2 separate regions of the Homo sapiens genome follow, and region 2 is linked to region 1. Evidence: promoter capture Hi-C in 16 types of primary human blood cells and fetal thymus (Javierre and others, 2016). All regions are on one chromosome and are shown on one strand. Each heading gives the region's core, a stretch centred on a gene start or on the middle of the fragment in contact. The rest is flanking DNA. Distances are from core to core; before and after follow the strand shown. Region 1 holds the start of IPO8 (importin 8). Region 2 overlaps GOLT1B (golgi transport 1B).

Region 1 (2,700 bases), core at 152-2,651:
GACCTTTGTCTTTCTGAAATGGGAGAGGTTCCCTTGTCCCCCTCACAGGGCGTGCATTGGGGGTGTGGCTCGCTTCTTCAGTGCCCCGCTGCTCAGACCTCTAGAGAAGCATACAGACCGGCAGGCTGTGGGGCTCCGACCCCTTGACAGAGTCTGGGGGTGAATGTTTACAGCTCCTGAAGCCCCAGTGGGTGTGTGTTACAGGATGCTCTTTCAGTTTGCCTTTAGGGGGCTTGTGTTAACCAGCTCAATTAGACCCTCTACCTTGTCGCACAGACAGCGAGCTTTCTGTATCCTGGGTTCTTGCCTTGGTGTACCAGAAGAATTGGATCACACGTGGGCTTGGAGAATGAGTGCAAAGTTTTATTGAGTGGAAGTAGCCCTCAGCAGATGAGGGACCCAGAAGGGAAATGGTTTTCCTCTGGAGTTAGGCCGCTTGGCGGCCCGGGCTCTTTTCCGACTGCCCAGGCCAACCTCCGCATCGTTCTGCCCGTGAATGGCCTGCGGATGTGCCAGCGAGCTCCTCTTCTTCCACCCTTATGCTCCTCTGGACGTCTGGCTGCCTGTGTACCTGCCTGCTAGGGTCTGGGGTTTTCATAGGCACAGTATGGGGGAGTGGCAGGCCAGGGTGGTCTTGGGAAATGCAACATTTGGGCTGGAAGGCAGGAGTGTCAGTCCTCACCTAGGTCGGTGGGCGTGGAGCCCTAGCAAGGGACCACACACTCCTCTACCCAGCACTTCACTTCGCCCATCCCTATCATTTAAAGGGACCACGCTCTTCCCTTCCCAGCACTCCCCTATCATTTCTACACTGTAAATTTTTTTTGTTTATATTTGTCTCATCTATCAGGTTGTGAATTCCTTCACATTAACTTGCATGGAATTCATCTTGTTATAATGTGGTACCTAAAAATCCTAGTACTCTGGTTCAAAAATATATGTTTAACAAATGTTCAGTGAAAGCGAATGAATGAATGAACGATGACTCCCACACACGGAGGAACCCTGTCCTCCTGTAAGGTACATGATTTGAAGGTCCCAACAAGTCTATCTTGGAACAGGCCCAGTTGCGATGCCCATACAGTTCTCGGACTAACAAAAAGTGTCACACCATCCAGATATGCTTAATTTGGAAGCAGCTGTAAGCAGACTCCCGGCCAGCTCAAGTTTCCTCACCTGGGAAGAGGCGGGAGGCTGTTTACCGTACGGAAGCATAGCGGCCGCCTGCCTGAGTTCGGGAGCGCGGGTTCCTTTCCGGGAAAGAAGCCTAGGCCGTTTTCCGTACAGCAGCATGGCGGCCGCCGACGGGAGGCGGTCATAGCATCACGCCCGGGGGAAGAGGCCGCCGTAAAGGAAGCTCTGCTTCCTCTTCTTCCTTCTCCCGCCTCCCACCGGCTGTCGTAAAACGGTGAATGGAGAGCGAGTTGTGGGGGGGAAAAAGGGAGGACAGGGGGCGCGGAGTCAGAGTGGCGCAGCAAGTGGCCGCAGGTGGCGACGGTGGCGGGGGGTGGGGTGTGAGGTAATCCAGGGGTCGCGGAAGAGGAGGCTGAGAGGGTCAAAAGAAAACTAAAGCTGCAGTCCGGCCTACTGTTCCGGGGGCCGCGGAGCCCCCACCCGGGGAGATGGACCTCAACCGGATCATCCAGGCGCTGAAGGGCACCATCGACCCGAAGTTGCGGATTGCAGCCGAGAACGAGCTCAACCAGGTGAGGAGAGGGTCTTCGGCGACCCTCTTCCGCCGAAGGGGCGCCCCTGCCGGCTGGCCGGGCTCCCTCTCCCCGGCGCCCCTCGTCCTCACCCCCACCGGGCTGGGGCTGACGCCTCACGGCTGGTCCCGCTCTCCGACCCCGCTGCCCCCCGGTCCAGTGGAGCAGGGCTCCCAGGATCTTTGCCGAACAGCTCGCGCACCTGTTGGCCACCTTTGCACCTTTTCGTGTCGTCTCCCTTCTCCAGGGCAGTTTGTTCTGCCTACTTGGTCCGCAAGAAGCAGTTTTTGCAACCTGTGCTAGTGTTTTCAGGGTGTGATTTATTTTCCTTAAGTGCGCGGACTTGGGGAGCAGGTGGGAATTTTACTTACAGTTCAAATCTGAGTTCAGCTTTTTTCCAAACCCAGCCCTTTTTAGGTGTTGCTGTGGAGCACGCTGCCCACCGCCTCCTCCTGTCGGGTTGGCAGGACTGTTTTGACACCGATTGGCCGAGTTTTGCGGAGCGCTGGGCAGTGCTGTTGGGAGAGTGCTCTGGGAAGAATAGGCAGTTTTCATGGTGATACTGCTTTATCTAAGACACATCAAAGTAAGATGTGTTGGAGAAATTTCTTATGAATGCTAAAATGTGTAAGACTTCTTTCTTTTCTCCGTCTCCTGTTCTTCCTAATTAGCCTTGACGTCTTTCCAGCGTTACCCCCACACTTCAAAATTTTAATGATCCCAAACTCCAGCTTATTTCTTCTTCCCTACCGGTACTTAAGAATCACAGACCTCTTACTAAAAAGTAGGGATTAAGAGCTACCACTGGGATGGAGCAACAGCTGTTTTAGGTTGTGATGACTTGTAAAATGTAAATATTCCAAAATCAGCTGTTCTCAAAGCGTTGCCCAGGACCTGGAGCTTCAGCATCACCTGAGAACTTACAAATTATGCAAATTACGGGGCTTCAGTCCAGACTTAACGAATCAGAAACTGTGGGGGTGGGACCAGTTGT
Region 2 (2,700 bases), core at 97-2,596, 9.2 Mb after region 1:
TTTAACCTTCATTACTAAAACCCCCACATAACTGGGAAAGCCAATGATTTTCTTACTTCTTAAGGTGCTTAAGTTTTCTGCTGCAAGATACATCTGCCAAAACAAACTCTTCTTCACTCTTTTCTCTCTTAGCCACTATGATCTTTACTCCTAGTTCTTCTCCCACCTCTTTTCCTAGTCTCTTCTAGTGTTTTCTTCTTTTTCTCCACCTACCCTAAAATGTCAAAAGTACTCCAAGATTCCAGTCTTATCACTGTATATTCTGTACTGTATTAACCGCCTCTTGACTGGCTCCCCTGACTTCAGTTTTTCTCTTTAATACCTACTTTATCCTGATATCAGAACAACCTTCCTAAAACATCTACCCTGTTGTACCACCTCTGGCTTAAAAACCTCTGTGCCCCACTCCCCCGACCTTCTCCAAACACTGCTCCCCCAGCCCAAATTTGGTTACAGGATAAGGTATACTTTTCTCAACAAGTCATCAAAGAAAGTTTGTAACCTGGCTCCAGGCTTCATTTTCAGTTTCATTACCAACCATTTCCTTCAACTGATCACATGCTCCTGTTCTATAAGAGTATTCATTCTTTTCAGAACAAGCTGTGTGTTTTTATGGCCCTGTCTGTTCCTTCTGTTAACTGTCGTTCCCTTTCTCGTTTATAGGATAAATTCTTACCCATTCTTCAAAGCCCAGTTTATCAGTTAACATTTCTCACCTCTCCTTGAATTTACTAATTTTTTAATCATGCTTCCACAATATTCTGCATACACATTTATAATGGCATTATGACTATATCCTATTGGTATTTTTAGAGTCTACTTTCCATAATAGAAATGAGAGATTTTCTAAAGCAGATTTGGTACTTAATTTATTTTTATGTCTCCTGTGGGTAATACAGTGCCTGGCAGACAGAAGACAAAGGATATGCATTTCTGGAATAAATAATTAAGCTCAACCCTACTTAAAGTTATTTTCTTTTCTGTTTTTTTTTTTTTTTTTTTTTTTTTTTTGAGACAGAGTCTCGCTCTATTGCCTAGGCTGGAGTGCAATGGTGTGATCGGCTCACTGCAACTTCCGCCTCCCAGGTTCAAACAATTCGCCTGCCTCAGCCTCCCGAGTAGCTAGGATTACAGGCGCCTGCCAGCATGGCCAGCTAATTTTTGAATTTTTAGTAGAGACGGGGTTTCATCATGCTGGCCAGGCTGGTCTTGACCTCCTGACCTCAGGTGATCCGCCCACCTCGGCCTCCCAAAGTGCTGGGATTACAGGTGTGAGCCACCGCACCTGGCCAAAGGTATTTTCATATAGATATATACACATACTATTGTTTATCTGCTAACTGGCATTTACAAAATATTACCTGCTCAAAATCTCCCATAGTAGTGTATTTGGTAAACAATCTTCTAATACGTATATGTGCTAAATAAATTTCCATCAAGTAGCAGTAGCTATGAAGTATAAGATTCTACACACCAAAATGCTGGATCTATCTATCTATCTATCTATCTATCTATCTACCTACCTACCTACCGATTGATCGATCGACCGACCTACCTACCACTATTTAGTTGATACAAATATCCAACATAAAGATGGTGCCTTAAAATGCCAATAAAATAAACTTTATTGTGCTGACAAAACAAGATAATTTATACCATTAGGCAATCATTCACATGTGATAAAACATTTTTATAGTTGCTTCATCTAAATCTATAAGATTCAACCTAAATAAAATTCCATTTAAGGAAATGATCATCATCTTACTCCAACTGATGCAAATATCTGAGTTTTTGTACTAACTATCTGACACACTGATTTACTGAAAGAGACAATAATATGCCTTACCTGAACAAGAGAAAAAATCCATAAATTTCGAAGATCATGCCTATCAAAGGCCAACCAATAAGGACTACAAATACACCACCCAGAAAAAAACCTGTAGCTTTCATTTTATGTTTTTGGAAGAAGAATCTGAATGTTCTTTCTAAACCAATTACAAAAGCCAAGCCGGCTACAAATAAAACCTAAAAGAGAAAGAAAATACAACACGGAAAAGGTAATTAAACACAATGCATAAATTTTAAACGTAAAGTCAAAGCTAAATATAAAAAAAGAAGCACATTTGTTTGGCTTTTAATGTGGGCAACTGGCCAGACAGAACTGTAATGTACAACCAAGCAGCAGAACCAAGGAGTGGGTTATGCATTTTAAAGTTGTAGCTTTGTTCCACTTGTCTCATTCCTCTTCTATCTTGATTAAATGGAGAAAAAGAGAAACAAAGAAAGATTAGACGTTACCAAGGGGCATCTGTGTCTGCAGTAGTTTTCCTAGTTTTAGCTGGATGAGGAAGGCTTAGTCAAGCAGATGAGTTGGCAAGGCATAAAGAGGAAAGCTGCCCATAAATATGTCACCCAAGGGTATTCCTCTTGGTTCTGAAATATTCATCATAGGCTACAGGAGTTTCTATGGATGGGAGAAATATTGACATGGCTAAGTTGATAGCAGAAGAAACAACGTGAAGCCAAGAAGATTCTAGTTTTATAAATTCTAGAATATCTGGTGGCAGCAGAAATAAAAATACAACCATGTGTTTTCAAATATTTTGAATGTATTCTGTGGACAAGAAATGGTGATGGATTAAGAGCTTGCTTTCCCCAGGTTTTCTTTCCAAATACTTGCCCTCCCCATTAACATTCTTT

Evidence for each region. The method cuts DNA at HindIII sites, captures the fragments that hold promoters and counts their contacts. A CHiCAGO score of 5 or more calls a contact.
Region 2: a fragment that was not itself captured here is called in contact with the fragment with the promoter of IPO8 in region 1 in 1 of 17 cell types (total B cells); the score reaches 6.5 in total B cells.

Annotation. Positions count from the first base shown.
Region 1 is chr12:30,694,570-30,697,269 of GRCh38, reverse strand. IPO8 (importin 8) reads left to right here and starts at 1,401. Exons shown (of 25, transcript NM_006390.4): 1 at 1,401-1,706. The coding sequence starts at 1,623. RefSeq lists an enhancer at 1,012-1,511 and a silencer at 1,602-1,651. The HindIII fragment of the contact is 4,530 bases long and covers 1-2,700 here.
Region 2 is chr12:21,507,708-21,510,407 of GRCh38, reverse strand. GOLT1B (golgi transport 1B) reads right to left here. Exons shown (of 5, transcript NM_016072.5): 3 at 1,847-2,025. Among named protein-coding and RNA genes, the nearest start is that of GOLT1B, 7.3 kb to the right of the region's middle. The HindIII fragment of the contact is 2,804 bases long and covers 1-2,700 here.